2 separate regions of the Homo sapiens genome follow, and region 2 is linked to region 1. Evidence: promoter capture Hi-C in human tissues and cell types (Jung and others, 2019). All regions are on one chromosome and are shown on one strand. The core of a region is centred on a gene start or on the middle of the fragment in contact, and the rest is flanking DNA. Distances in the headings are between cores, read along the strand shown. Region 1 holds the start of TMEM44 (transmembrane protein 44). Region 2 has its middle 130 kb from the start of XXYLT1-AS1.

Region 1 (7,895 bases), core at 1,421-3,920:
TGTTTGTTTGTTTGAGACAGAGTCTTGCTCTGTTGCCCAGGCTGGAGTGCAGTGGCGTGATCTCGGCTCACTGCAACCTCTGCCTCCCAGGTTCAAGAGATTCTCCTGCCTCCGCCTCCCAAGTAGCTGGGATTACAGGTGCCTGCCACCACACCCAGCTAATTTTTGTATTTTTAGTAGAGACAGGGTTTCACCATGTTGGCCAGGCTGGTCCGGAACTCCTGACCTCAAGTGATCCACCCGCCTCAGCCTCCCAAAGTGCTGTGATTACAGGCGTGAGCTACCGCTTCCAGTACTTTTAATAGCCAAAACCACAATTACTTTTGCACCAATCTAATACCATCAAATTAGTGATTAGATTTCATTTCTCCTGAGAGGTTATAACTTTGTTTTGTTTTGAGAGACCGGGGTCTCCCTATGTTGTCTAGGCTGGTCTCCAACTCCTGGGCTCCACTGATCCTCCCACCTTGGCCTCCCAGAGTGCTGGGATTACAGGCATGAGCCACCTTACCAAGCCAAATCATAACTTTGAAAACACAGTGAACCACTAAAATAGTGTAGCCACTTTGGAAAATAGTCTGGCAATTCCTCAAAACATTAAACACAGTTACCACAGATCCCAGCAAGGACACTCCTAGGTATATACCCAAGAGAGCATGAAACCTGTGTCCACACAAAAACTTGTGCACAAATGTTCAGAGCAGCATTATTCATAATAGCCCAAAGGTGAAAGCAATCCAAACATCCCACTAATGAGTGGATAAACGAAATGTGGTATAAAAATACCCATACCATGTATTATGATGAGCCATAAACAGGAATGAAGTACTGATAACACGCAGCAACATGAATGAACCTTGAAAACATGCTAAGTGAAAGTCACAGAAAGGTCATATAGTGGATGATTCCATTGATGTGGAATGTCCAAAATGGGCAAATCCATAGAGACAGAAGGTAGATTTGCGATTCCTGGGCTGCGAGTGTTGAGGGGAGTGGACAGTAACTGCCAGTGGGCCGGGTTCTTTTCAGATGGGGGTGATGAAAATGTTCTAAAAGTAGACAGTGATGTTGGTTGCACAACGCTATGGATACACTAAAAACTGCTGAATTGTACATTTTATTTTTTGTTTTGTTTTGAGATGGAGTCTTGCTCTGTCGCCCAGGCTGGAGTGCAGTGGCGCCATCTCAGCTCACAGCAATCTCCGCCTCCCAGGTTCAAGCAGTTCTCCTGCCTCAGTCTCCCGAGTAGCTGGGATTACAGGCGCCTGCCATCATGCCTGGCTAATTTTTGTGTTTTTAGTAGAGATGGGGTTTCACCATGTTGGCCAGGGTGGTCTCAAACTCCTGACCTCAAGTGATCCACCTGCCTCGGCCTCCCAAAGTGCTGGGATTACAGGCGCGCACCACCATGCCCGGCTAATTTTTGTATTTTTAGTAGAGACAGTGTTTCACCATGTTGGCCAGGCCGGTCTTGAGCTCCTGACCTCAAGTGATCCGCCTGCCTCAGCCTCCCAAAGTGCAGGGACTACAGTTGTGAGCCACCGTGCCTGGCCAGAATTGTACATTTTAAAAGTACTATGTAGGCTGGATGTGGTGGCTCACACCTGTAATCCCAGCACTTTAAGAGGCTGAGGAGGGCAGATCACGAGGTCAGGAGTTTAAGACCAGCCTGGCCAACATGGTGAAACACCGTCTCTACTAAAAATACAAAAATTACTCGGGTGTGGTGGCGGGCACCTGTAGTCCCAGCTACTTGGGAGGCGGAGGCAGGAGAATTGCTTGAACCTGGGAGGCGGAGGCTGCAGGGAGCTGAGATCGCACCATTGCATTCCAGCCTGGGCAACAGAGTGAGACTCTGTCTCAAAAAAAAAAAAAAAAAAAAAGACTATGCTTATGGCATATAAATAATATCTAAATAAAGCTGTAGTTTTTGAAAATTAAAAAAGATTTTTTTTCTTTTTTTCAATCCTGCTCCTTCTATAGAAATATTGTTTTCAAGTCATGTCTTGCTTTAAACAAACCTACTAAAATCAATAAGGAGATTTAAAAATTACAATAATAGTTTACTCTCAAGAAAAACAGCCCTGTGTACTTGAACTGTGCGGTGTGTGGCTGGACAGGAGGCGGCCGGTTGCAGAGATAACCAGCTCTTGGCTGCGGGGCCGTGGGCTAGGATGACATCCAGGAGCAGGGCTTGGGCGACTGCCTGGGGGCGGAGGGTGCCGTTGGCAGCTTCAGAAAGGAGAGTGAGAGGCAGATGTGGGGGTATTTGTTCTCCGGCACGTTTGTTTCCTCCTTCCTGGTCTTGCACCCCACCCTTTTTACTGCGCCCTGTCGGCGATCAGGACCACGCCCCCTTCACCTCGGGATCCCAGCACCCATGCGCTTCAGCAGCGCAACTAATTGCTGTTGGCTCAGGAAATGTGGACAATACGCAGGAAGGGACGCCGTGCCTTACAGCGACCGGCAGGGACTCGGCCGTCCGCGAGCCCAGCCGCCCGCCCCGCTCCGGCCAGGATGTTGGAGGTGGGTGACCGCGAAGAGGTCGGCGGGGGGCGGGGGCCGCAGTCTTTGTGCGCGCGCAGCTCCCGGCTCCCGCCGCTGGGGGGCGGCCTCCGCCCTGCCGACCCCCGACAATAGCGCGAGGGGTGGGGAGCGCGCGGTCCCGGAAACTTTTCCCCGGCGCCTTCGCCGCCGCCGCCCGCGCCCGGGAGCGCGCCCTTCTCTGCCCGCGGTCGGTGCGCTCGGCCGGAGGCGCCGCGGCGGAACGGAACCCAGAGAAGGGCACGCGGGGCGGCGGCGCTCGGGGCTTGCCCGCGGCGAGGGAGGCTGCGCCCAGGTCCCCGGCCCCGCGCCGCGCGCCCAGCCGCGCCATGGGGGAGGCGCCCAGCCCCGCGCCCGCGCTCTGGGACTGGGACTACCTGGACCGCTGCTTCGCCCGCCACCGCGTCTGCATCTCCTTCGGCCTGTGGATCTGCGCCTCCTCCTGCTGGATCGCCGCCCACGCGCTGTAATGGGGCCACGGGTCGGGGGGCTGTCGGGCGGGGAAACGGGCGCCAATCCCCTGCTGCTCCCTCTCGGAAACCTAGAGGAGGGGGCGGAAAGGGGGATGAAGGAGATGGCTCAGTAATAGGATCCAATGGAACATTGCTCTGTAGACTGAAGTGGGATCTTCTTTCCGGATCCCACGCACAGGGAAGCTGGGCTGTGAGCCAAAGGGAGGAGGCTGGGTGGTGCAGCGGATGGGGCCCCGAGGACACCGCGAGCCCTGGGTGCTATTGTCAGCCCTTCGCCATTGACTCGCAGTGTGACCTGGGCAAGCTCCAGAACCTCTCTGGGCCTCCTATGACCGGAGATAATACCTCATAGGATGATGGGAGGATTCGATGAATCAGTACCGTTAAAGCACTTAGTAAATGCTCATTAAACATCATTTGTATTGCTCCAGCTAGGCCACCAACTCTTAGGACCTTGGCAAGTCCCTTGATGTTTCTGGCCTCAGTTTACCCAAAGTCCTCTTAGGTGGGAAGGGAGGTAGTGATATGATCCAGCTGGCCTGTCTTTGCCCTGGTCTGTCCAGCACCTGGACTGGTTTGTCCAGATGCCCACGGTAGCCTAAGTTCTAAGAGTGAATCTCCAGGTCCTCAGCCGCTCTGTCCTAGGCATGGAAATCCACTAGCAGTGCTCAGGATGGTGCCGCCCAAGCATTCCCTGGCAGGGGAGAAAGGACCAGCACCCCTGGGAGAGGTTAGAACTGTCTCCCTGTAGGCACTCAGTGGATATTCTCCTAAGGCGTTTGGTCGTATTGCAGAGATTCTGCAGCCCCACTACCCAGTACTGCAATACAAATAAAAAGACGCCTAGAACATTTACTGTAGGCCCAGTGTTGCATTCATTAACTCATTCAATGCCTGCCACTCACAATATCAGCACCAGGAGGTAGGTGCTGTTACCCCCACTTTCTGTAGGGAACCCTGAGGTTCTGAGAGGTTAAATAACTTGTCTGAGTGAAAGGAAAGAACCAAAACCCCAGATCCTATTGGAAAGGGGCAGGCTGGTAAGAGAGATTAAACTGTTCAGATCAGAGGCTGGAAACTAACAAGGCGCTGGACACGCATTATCCTTTTGTTCCTCACAGTTGTCCTCAGACCAGCACTGTTAGGCACTTTGCCAACCTTGGAGGGGTTAAGAGTGAGCCTCTGCTTCTCACCCTGCCTGGGATCTGGACATACCCATTTGTTTTCAGGGCCTTGCCATCCCTGAACCTCCCCTGCTCCCCTTTCTCTTAGAAGAATGTGTCTTCGGAGTGGTGTGTGGGCTGGGTTAAGGTCAGCTGGCACCCTGGCCCCAAGAGCTGGGGAAGTGGCTGAGAACAACAGGGTACGGAGCAAAGCCCCCGCGTGTGAAGCCAGAAGACCACCATTAACTCACCTTCTCACCAGAGGCCTCAGTTTTGTCCTCTCAAATGGGAGGGTTGATATAAATTATTTCTAATTGGGGTCCGCCTCTGGGAGTCTCCAATTTAAGAATCTCCACTCCTTGGTCTTCAATTGGTTTTAGGAGCCCAGGGCCCAGACTGAAGTTGATGTTGCCACTGTGAGCTTCAGGCTTGGGCCAGCAGGTCAGGAAATGTTTAGAAAGCCAAGAGCCCTCTGTACTCATCCACCATTCCCAAGGACAGGCGCTCAGAATCAGCTAAATCGTCCTAAGGATGTGGAATGAGCACCACCCTCTGCTGAGTGGAAATGAAGCCAGCGCTGCCACCCTGTCTCGGTGTCTCCAGAGAAATGTAGCAAGGAGGCAGGTACGACAATGTATTTCAGAGGCCCTATCAGTGACGCCGATAGAAACAGCCAGCCCCTTCGGAAGGCAGGTACGACAACATATTTCAGAGGCCCTATCAGTGACGCTGAGGGAAACAGCCAGCCCCTTCGGGAGGCAGGTATGACAACGTATTTCAGAGGCCCTATCGGTGACGCCAATAGAAACAGCCAGCCCCTTCGGGAGGCACGTGCGACAACGTATTATTTCAGAGGCCCTATCAGTGATGCCGACGGAAACAGCCAGCCCCTTCGGGAGGCAGGTACAACAGCGTATTATTTCAGAGGCCCTATCAGTGATGCCGACGGAAACAGCCAGCCCCTCCAGGAGGCATGTGCGACAACGTATTTCAGAGGCCCCATCAGTGACGCTGACGGAAACAGCCAGCCCCTTCGGGAGGCAGGTACGACAGCGTATTATTTCAGAGGCCCTATCAGTGATGCCGACGGAAACAGCCAGCCCCTCCAGGAGGCACGTGCGACAACGTATTTCAGAGGCCCCATCAGTGACGCCGACGGAAACAGCCAGCCCCTTCGGGAGGCAGGTACGACAGCGTATCATTTCAGGGGCCCTATCAGTGACGCCGATGGAAACAGCCAGCCCCTTCTGGAGGCAGGTACGACAGCATACTATTTCAGGGGCCCTATCAGTGACGCCGATGGAAACAGCCAGCCCCTTCGGGAGGCAGGTACGACAGCGTATCATTTCAGGGGCCCTATCAGTGACGCCGATGGAAACAGCCAGCCCCTTCTGGAGGCAGGTACGACAGCATACTATTTCAGGGGCCCTATCAGTGACGCCGATGGAAACAGCCAGCCCCTTCGGGAGGCAGTACGACAGCGTATTATTTCAGGGGCCCTATCAGTGATGCCGACGGAAACAGCCAGCCCCTTCGGGAGGCAGGTACGACAGCGTATCATTTCAGGGGCCCTATCAGTGACGCCGATGGAAACAGCCAGCCCCTTCTGGAGGCAGGTACGACAGCATACTATTTCAGGGGCCCTATCAGTGACGCCGATGGAAACAGCCAGCCCCTTCGGGAGGCAGTACGACAGCGTATTATTTCAGGGGCCCTATCAGTGACGCCGATGGAAACAGCCAGCCCCTTCGGGAAGCAGGTACGACAGCGTATTATTTCAGGGGCCCTATCAGTGACGCCGATGGAAACAGCCAGCCCCTTCGGGAGGCAGGTACGACAGCGTATTATTTCAGGGACCCTATCAGTGACGCCGATGGAAACAGCCAGCCCCTTCTGGAGGCAGGTACGACAGCATACTATTTCAGGGGCCCTATCAGTGACGCCGATGGAAACAGCCAGCCCCTTCGGGAGGCAGTACGACAGCGTATTATTTCAGGGGCCCTATCAGTGACGCCGATGGAAACAGCCAGCCCCTTCGGGAGGCAGGTACGACAGCGTATTATTTCAGGGGCCCTATCAGTGACGCCGATGGAAACAGCCAGCCCCTCCGGGAGGCAGGTACGACAGCGTATTATTTCAGGGGCCCTATCAGTGACGCCGATGGAAACAGCCAGCCCCTCCGGGAGGCAGGTACGACAGCGTATTATTTCAGGGGCCCTGTCAGTGACGCCGATGGAAACAGCCAGCCCCTTCGGGAGGCAGGTACGACAACGTGTTTCAGAGGCCCTATCAGGGACGCCGATAGAAACAGCCAGCCCCTTCAGGAGGCATGTACGACAATGTATTTCAGAGGCCCTATCAGTGACGCCGATAGATACAGCCAGCCCCTTCGGGAGGCATGTACAACAACGTATTTCAGAGGCCCTATCAGTGACGCTGATAGAAACAGCCAGCCCCTTCCTGCCCTTCCGTGCATCTTCTCCAGTGGATATGGACTGGGGAGGGGCTGTAAGGGGAGAAGTGGCTGTGGGGGCGCTGAGGGAGGGACAGCTCCAAGTGCCAAAAGGGCTCTGTGTTTAAAGAACATGGACACAGGCCAGCAGAAGCCAGGCTGCCCCACTTCACAGATGGTTTAGAAGAATTTCGTTTGAATTTATTTCAGAGAAACAAGTTGTCTTTTTAATTCAGGCAATTAACTGTGCTCTGCAGTTATCTGCAGTGGTTGGGTTGCTTTTTTTTTTTTTTGAGACGGAGTCTCGCTTTGTCACCCAGGCTGGAGTGCAATGGTGTGATCTTGGCTCACTGCAACCTCTGCCTCCTGGGTTCAAGCAATTCTCTTGCCTCAGCCTCCGGAGTAGCTGGGATTACAGGCGCACGCCACCACACCCGGCTAATTTTTGTATTTTTAGTAGGGGCGGGGTTTCACCATGTTGGCCAGGATGGTCTCGAACTCCTGACCTCAGAGGATCCTCCTGCCTCGGCCTCCCAAACTGCTGGGATTACAGGTGTGAGCCACCATACCCAGCCTGAGTTACTTTTATAACCCTCCTGTTTCCTTTTCAAAAAATAAAACCCGATGGCTGCTTTTTCAGTGCTAGGTGGGGGGTCATCAAATGGAGCCGTCCTGATTTGGAGTCGGAAAGTAAAATTCCTCTTCCTCCAAAGAGGCGGTGTCTTCACATCTCACGAGGTCTAGCTCCTGCCATGGGCATCTGGACAGGCGGCTCTGGAGTCTTCTGATTGGTTCCCATCTGTAAACTCAGTTCAAAAACACGTCCTAAATACCTCGGGCAGAAAGAGCTCCCTGACGATGCGGGGTCACAGTTGCCCTTTTTAGATACATGCGTTTGGGTCCAAACTCACAGTTGCTGTGTTCTGTCCACACCCCTGTCACCCCAGGCTTCTCTATCTGAGATGTGCACAGAAACCCAGACAGGACCAGTCGGCACTGTGTGCTGCGTGCTGCCTCCTGACCAGTCTGTGTGACACCGTCGGGGCTCTTCTGGCCAGACAGCTCACAATCCAGGTATGTTGGGCCTCCAGCTGACAGTGGCTTAGGCCAGCACTAAGGGAGGCCTGGCCTTTCTCTCTGCTGCAGCCGTGGTGGCTTTTGTCTTGTTGCTGCAACATGCATAGCACAGTGTCACCTCAGAACCTGTGCCTGGCTGTTCCTTCTGCCCCCCTCAGAGGCTCTTGTTCCCAATATCCACTTGGC
Region 2 (7,895 bases), core at 1,961-4,460, 330 kb before region 1:
GATGAACCTTGAAGGAAGTGAAAGAAGCCAGTCACCAAAGGCCACGTATTGTATGATTCCATTTATACGGAATATCCAGAATAAGAAAATCTATAAAGAGACCCAGAGCTTAGTGGTTGCTCAGGGCTGAGGGGATTGGGGGCTGAGGGTGATAGCCAAAATGTATAGGGTTTATTTCTGAGATGATGAAAATGTTCTAAAATTGATGTTGGCAGTGGTTGCACAGACTGAATATACTGAACCATTGGATTGTATACTTTAAGAGGAAATACTTGCTCATTTTAGAAAAGTAGAAACAGAGAAAATTAAAACTACTCAGTGTTAACATTTTGGGGCATGTCCTTTCATTCCTTTTCTAGGCAAAGCTTTTTAATGTTTTTGAGGATGGTACATATTGAATTTTATGCAGCCTTTTTGTTGAAGGTGAATGTTTCCTGTGTTTTTATCACACTTGGCAAGCATTGTTTTCAATGATTGTGTAACATATCTTACCAAATAGATGCACTATAGGCTCCTGAAACGTTTCCACTGTTGGGCATTTAAATTATCTTCATTTTTTTGTTATCATAAATATGTTTTGGTGAACATCTTTGTTATGAGGTTTATTTGAGATTTTAAAGTTATTCCTTGGGATAGATTCAAATGGTGAGATTGTTGGGTTAAAGAGTTTGAATACTTTCAGGACTCTTGTTACTTAGTGTCAGCTTGCTTTGCAAAGGAGATACATTCTTGCAAAGGAGATGCACCTTCTTAGAAGATGTCATTTAAGAGAAAAAATATCCCACGTTCCCCTCCCCCCACAAAACCCCCCTATGGCCTAAACCACACTCTCTTTTCCTCCCATCCCCTGCTTTTTTCTTCTCCCTCCTCATTTCTCTTGGTAGTGGATTTGCGCTGTAATATATACAGTCAATACCGGTGGTTTATTTCATCCAGGCCCCTTAGGTGATTGCTGTCTGATAACATTAGAGACAACATATTGGATTTTTTCAAGGCATAAATGTACAAGGACAAATAGTACAGCAGAAGAGACAACAGCAACAAAATTTGGAAGCACGGGTGTCCTCACCACACCCAAGTCTTTTATATCTCTTTGTAAAGTTTTATGTTTTATTGATTGTTAACTAATTAAAATTAAAATGAACAATTGACGTTAATTTCTACATTTTGGTCTTATTTTCATTGTCCTGTGTGAAAGGAAACTTTCACACATATTCCTGAACTGATCACTAGATATGTGTGCATGAAAGTTATTGCTTTTTATGCTTCTTATGTATTCTATTACTTCATCAAGCTCTTTCATTAATTCCAAGAATTTTCCGATGAGTCTTAGGTTTTATGGGATGATGATTATACCATCTGCAAATTATAACTGTGTCTCCTCTTTCTTTTCTATAGCTACACTTTTTATTTCTGGTTTATATGCTTTGGTCCCACATTTTAGAAGAGTGTTAATTAACAGATATTCTTGCCTGTCCTTGACTTTAATAAGATTGTTTCTAGTAACGGCCATTAGGTGTTATGTTTGAAGTTGGTTTAGAAGAGATATTATCACATAAAGGGAGTATATTTTCCCTTTATTTCAGAAATCGATGTAAATGTTATCAAATGTCTTAACAGTCCTTACTGAGATGTGCATGGAGTTTTTTCTTTGACTTCCTGACACATTCTGCCGAATACATTAAATTAATTGTATCTTGTCAGTATCCATCTTCTGAATTGATGGAGCAGGCATAGTGGCAGAATCACGAGGAGACACGGGCCTTCTGGGCATCCATCCTCAACAGGCAGCATCCTGCAGGCTCTCTCTCCTGGGCTACTTCTGCCTCCTCTTGTAACCCCTACAGATCCCCACAGGATGGGGAGTTCATTCTAATCTCTTGCTACTCAACATGTGGCCCATAGACCAGCAGCTTCAGCACCACTAGAAGCTTATTAGAAATGCAGAATTTCAGACCCGGCCATGGGCCTGCTGAGCCAGAATCTGACATTGAACGAGACCCTCCCCACCACCGAGATTCGTGTGCATGTTAAAGACTTAGGAACATTGTTCTAACATAGTGGAGCAATGGCTTCTCCCCATTTTTCTTCTGCCAACGGGACAGCCCTCTAGTCCTACCCAAAAGCGGTTGAGAGAAGCTCTAGGTGGTTTTCCTGTAAGTGTGTGTATGTATGTAAGAGAGAGAGGAAGAGAGATAGAGATGGACAGACAGACAGACATAGACAGGCAGAGGTAGACAGAGACAGAGAGAGAGCAGATTTGGGATGAGCACACATTGTGTGACCCTTTTCGGGGTCCTTGGGCGATTATGACAAGTGATGAGTACCCATGTGTGAAGCAAGCTCTGTGTCTATGACTTGGGAAAGAGAGTGCCCCCTGAGTTAGCACGAGGAGGAGAGCAGAGAGAGAGGAAGACAAAGAGAGAGCAAGAGTTCTTCCTAGAAACGGTCACCTGGTGATTTGCTTTCACCAGCTGCAGATGGTGATTCCTGAAGTGCCTGGATCATCAGGAAGGGGACGCTGGCTGGTTAACTATCTCCAGACCTGATGCTACCAGCTGCTGGAGACAGGATTTCCTCTCATTTTCTTGGAACACTGATCTGGTTAAGAAACTTAGGCTCATCAAAATCCTGTGTGCTTCTTCTTTGGAAAGTGTCCCAGCCTCTCTGTAGTTGCTTGCTCATTTGTAAAACAGAAACAGACATCTCTGTCTTGAACCCAAGCTTCAAGCGTGGCTTGGGGGACTGTGGACACATTAGAAAGTACAAGAGGAAGTTCGCTGTGAGCTCCATAAGAGCGAATTGGTACTGAATCAAAGGTGTCCTTAACATGAATTGCAGCCGCAGGAAGGTGTCATCTGATGTGGAATTGATTTCCATGCTTCTTCAGGGAGCTCGCAGGGAAAATGGAACCAGCAGAGCAGAGAGCACAGCTGTCTTTCCGACAGACACTCCAGATTCCTATGCGGAAGAGCTATGATGCGGAACGTCTTTTTAACTCTGGAATACAGATTGGGTTGACTTCAAAGAAGCTTGAATATCAAAAGCATTTCGATATTAAGTTTTGCAAGTGAGACCAGAAGCCATCGTTTAAGACAGTGCTAGAGAGAGTGACATGATGGTACCAGGAGGGGAAAGATCAAAGAGTGTGATCAATCAGCTGCTTTACAGACAGGAGAGGAATGAAGGCATTGGAGCAATATTTCTGCTGAAGAGCCACACTCTCTTAGACCTGAAAAAGAATCTTGGAAGAAGTAGCCGAGGGAGGGAAGAATGTTGTCGAGCCTCTGGCAGCGGCAGGCACTGTGCTGAGTGCTCCGTAGCCAGTGCTCATGAATTAGTTAAGCAAGAGTCGGGATTCAAGTTCAGCTCTACCAGGCTCTGGAGGTCCCACTCGAAATATACCACACTGCTTTATAATCTCCCATAAAGCGGTGCTTGCCATCTTTAATGTGCCTACCAGTCGCTGAGAACTCTTTTAAACGCAGAGTCTGATTTGGAACATTGGTCAGGGGAGGTGGCTGAGATTCTGTACATCTAATGCGTTCCACGGCCATGCCGACACTGCTGGTCCATGGACCACAGTTACAAAGACAAGGCCTCACGGAGAGTCTCTTCCAGGGATTCACAATCTTGAGCATGCACTAGCTTTACCTCGGGATGCCTAGGCCCAGATACTTTATAAAATTTCTCTAGTGGATTTCAATGTTCTTTCAGATCACTGATTTGGGCCACTGATTCTCAAAGTGTGTGGATGGAGATGGAGTGTTGGTAGGGGGTAGGGCATGACTTGCAACAGAATCACCTTTGGAGTTTCCTCAAACTGTGGGGTATGTTTATCTCTTCATGGATACATATAGTTTCCAAACTGTACATGTGCCCCTGTTTTGAAATTCAAGTGTGTTTTCTGAACTCACACCCTTCTGCCTACTTTCTCTTGACATTTGAGGGACACTAAAATCGTAAATAAAAGCCAGCTAGCCCTGGAAGAATCAGACATAATTCGAGAAACTAGTAAGAACATTTTAAAAAATTGTAAATAGTGTCCTCAGAGAGACCAAGAGGCAATTGTACCCATAATGCAAGGGTAGTCTACTATGGCCGGGCACGGTGGCTCACGCCTGTAATCCCAGCACTTTGGAATGCCGGGGTGGGTGGATCACAAGGTCAGGAGTTCAAGACCATCCTGGCCAACATGCTGAAACCCCGTCTCTACAAAAAATACAAAAATTAGCTGGGCGTGGTGGTGTGCACCTGTAGTCCCAGCTACTCGGGAGGCTGAGGCAGGAGAATCGCTTGAATCTGGGAGGCGGAGGTTGCAGTGAGTCGAGATTACACCACTGCACTACAGCCTAGAGACAGAGCGAGACTCCATCTAAAAAAAAAAAAGTAGTCTGCTACATGAAAAGTTGTCTAAGAACAAGAAACAAAGATCTAGAAATTCAAAGCATGACTGGTGAAATCAAAAATTCAATGGGATAAGCTAAATAATGTAACAGACAAGACTGAGAACCAAATTGGTCATTTGGAAAGGAAATTTCCAAAATATGGAGCAAAAGTACAAAGACAGAAAATATCAGAGAAAAGTCAAGAGAAATAAAAAATAGATCAGAAGGCTCAATATCTGTTTAATAAAAGTTTTAATAGAAAATGGACATAAAACAAATAGAAGAAACATTTCCTGAACTGAAGAAGGCAGGAGTCTTCAGATAGAAACAGTCCACAGATGTCAAGGATTTATGAACTAAAGGCACACTGATGGAACAACAGAACTCTAAGGATAAAGATAAAAAGCATGTAAGTTTGCAGAGCAGGGGAAAATATGTATTTTGAAAAATAACAAGATTCAGGCTGACATGAGATTTCTTTTCATCTGCTAACCTGGATGCTAGACATCCATAGTGTAATGTCCTGAAAATTCTAAAGAAAAATGATCTTTAATATAGGAGGTAGAATTTTATACCCTTTCAAATTGGAAATAAGAGGGCAGTGCTCAGAAAGTCATCTTCAGGTGTGTAGGAAATTACAATGTTATTCTATCCCTCTATCCATTTTCCGTGGCTGCTGTAACAAATTACCACAAACCTGGTGGCTTAAAACACCAGAAATGTATTCTCTCATCATCCTGGAGGACAGAAGTCTGAAGTTAGTATCCTTGGGCCAAAATCCAGGCATAGGCAGTGCCAGGCTCCCTCTGGAGGTTCTAGGAGAGAACCCTCCCTTCCCTGTTCCAACTCTCCTGGGAGCAAGCATTCTTTGGCTTATGGCTGCGCCACTCTGATCTTTAAGGCTGGCATCTTCAAATCTCTCCCTGATCCATTTTCAAATCACCTTCTCGTCTGTGTCTGTGTGAGAAACCACCATCTACCTCTTTCTTGTAAAGATATTTGTGATTGTATTTAGGGCCCACTTGATCAATGCAGGATCATCTCCCCATCTCAAAATCCGTGATTGTATTTAGGGCCCACTTGATCAATGCAGGATCATCTCCCCATCTCAAAATCCTTAGTCACATCTGCAAAAACCCCTTTTTGCCACATAAACTAATACAGGCTCCAGGGATTAGGATGTGAATATATTTTGGGAGCCTACCACAGTTACCAGTCATGCCTCTTAAATGAAAACAGATTTTGAGAAAGTACTCTAGCAAAACTAAAAAAGAATTTTAAAGGAGGATGACATGAGAGACAACAACAAGAACAAAAAAACAAAACAAACAAACAAAAAACAAAAAAAACAAGCCAGGCCTAGTGGCTTATACCTGTAATCCCCGCACTTTGGGAGGCCGAGGTGGGTGGATCACCTGAGGTCAGAAGCTCAAGACCAGCCTGACCAACACGGTGAAACCCCATCTCTACTAAAAATACAAAATTAGCTGGGCATGGTGGCAGGCACCTGTAATCCCAGCTACTCGGGGAGGCTGAGGCAGGAGAATTGCTTGAACCTGGGAGGCAGAGGTTGCAGTGAGCAAAGATCATGCCATTGCACTCCAGCCTGGACGACAGAGCAAGACTCCGTCTCAGAAAAACAAAAACAAAAACTGTGCAGCTGGAATTGACCCAGAAGCAGTGAAAAAAGTGGAAAGAAAAATAAGAATTTCCATGTATTAGTCAAGGTTCTCCTGAGAAACACAACCAATAGAATAGATAGATAGACAGACACAAAAGGAGATTTATTATGAAAATTGGCTCGTGTGATTATAGAGGCTGAAGAGTCTCATGAAATACCATCTCTAATATGGAGTACCAGGAAAGCTAGTGGTGTGACTCAGTTGTAGTCTTAAGGCCTGAGAACCAGGCGATCCGATGGTATAGACTCCCAGTCTGAGGCCATGAGGTCAAATGCCTGGTGGTGCCGCTGGTGCAAATCCTGGATTCCCAGGGCCTGAGATCCAGGAGCTGTAATATCTGAGGGCAGGAGAAGATGGACGGCCCAGCTGAAGAAGAGGGAGTCAATTACCCTTCCTCTGCCTTTGTGCTCTATTTGTGTCCTCAATGGATTAAATGATGCCCACCCCCATTGCTCAGGGCCATCTTTACTTAGTCTACCAATTCAAATGCCAATCTCTTCTCGGGAAGGACCCTCCCAGACACACTCAGAAATAATGTTTTACCAGCTATCTGGGTAACCCATATCCCAGTCAAGTGGACACATAAAATGAACCATTACACTCCACTAGACTCTTCACTCCATAGAAGAGCCTCCTGAGAATGTCACAGGGATCATGACAGTGAATTACATTTTCTTTTTCTCTCTAGGTCTGATCGTATTATTTGGTTCTTCAGTAAAAAAGGTTCATATGTTCACAATGCTGTTCATTGGTTTTCAAACTTTAACACTTAAATAGCCACAGAATAAGCATGCAAATGTTACAAACCTTGAAATTATGAAACATTATTAGACCATCAGGAGTTAGTGCAAGAGAGGTAGGAAAAAGAGGGCTTCACTGCTACCCTCACCTTTCACAGTGGGGAGTTAAGGAATGCTGTATAAAGTGAATAAATCAAGGCAGATTTTTAGGTAGATTATTGAAAGTAATAGGAGTAATCACTAAAACAATTAAAAAGAGCGATATAAATAATAAAATTGGGCTGTGACATGGAGAGGCAAGAGGTGTTGTGAGGGTGCTGAATTCCTAATCCTCCATAAAGGGGAGTCAAACGTTACTATCTAAAGATAAGCCAAGGCCAGGCATGGTGGTTCATGCCTGTAATCCCAGCACTTTGGGAGGCCGAGGCAGGAGATTGCCTAAGGTCAGGAGTTCAACACCAGCCTGACCAACAAGGTGAAACCCTGTCTCTACTAAAAATACAAAAAGTAGCCAGGCGTGGTGGTGCATGCCTGTAATCCCAGCTATTCAGGAGGCTGAGACAGGAGAATCACTTGAACCCGGGAAGCGGAGGCTGCAGTGAGGTGAAATCACACCATTGCACTCCAGCCTGGGTGACAAGAGTGAAAGTCTGTCTCAAAAAATAAAATAAAAATAAAAGATAAGCCAAGAAAATAAAAGCTTTTTTTTTTTAATTATAATAGGAATTACCACAAGAAATAAAAACAGAAACTTTCAACAGAGGTTTCTTCTGCGGAGTGGTACTGGGTTTGGAAGAGAATGAGAGGAGATGTTTACTTTTTCCTCAGATCCACCTGTGCTCTTGGAATATTTTTAACTGGGTTCATGGATTACATTTATAGTTAAAAAGTAAGTAAAATAATACAAATAAACATAGCATTGTAAAACATGAAGCAAGCCGCCTATGAGATTCCCAAGTCTCCTGCCATAGGATCTGTTCCAGAACCCTCTCTGGAGGGCACAGACAATGATGTCTAGAGGCAACAGATGAGAATAGTGAGGGGATGTGGATTTCTGTCCTCTATGGAGCTGGGGGTGCAGGGAG

The links. The method cuts DNA at HindIII sites, captures the fragments that hold promoters and counts their contacts. A contact is called where the count stands out against the background at its distance.
Region 2: a fragment that was not itself captured here is called in contact with the fragment with the promoter of TMEM44 in region 1 in 2 of the 25 tissues and cell types used here (spleen and thymus).

What each region holds. Positions count from the first base shown.
Region 1 is chr3:194,628,194-194,636,088 of GRCh38, reverse strand. It overlaps TMEM44 (transmembrane protein 44), which reads left to right and starts at 2,670. Exons shown (of 10, transcript NM_001011655.3): 1 at 2,670-3,010; 2 at 7,580-7,706. The coding sequence starts at 2,874. TMEM44-AS2 (TMEM44 antisense RNA 2) reads right to left here and starts at 3,161. Exons shown (of 2, transcript NR_186047.1): 1 at 2,922-3,161. RefSeq lists a silencer at 2,472-2,901. The HindIII fragment of the contact is 16,299 bases long and covers 1-7,895 here.
Region 2 is chr3:194,962,312-194,970,206 of GRCh38, reverse strand. No RefSeq gene overlaps it. Among named protein-coding and RNA genes, the nearest start is that of XXYLT1-AS1, 130 kb to the left of the region's middle. The HindIII fragment of the contact is 4,123 bases long and covers 1,149-5,271 here.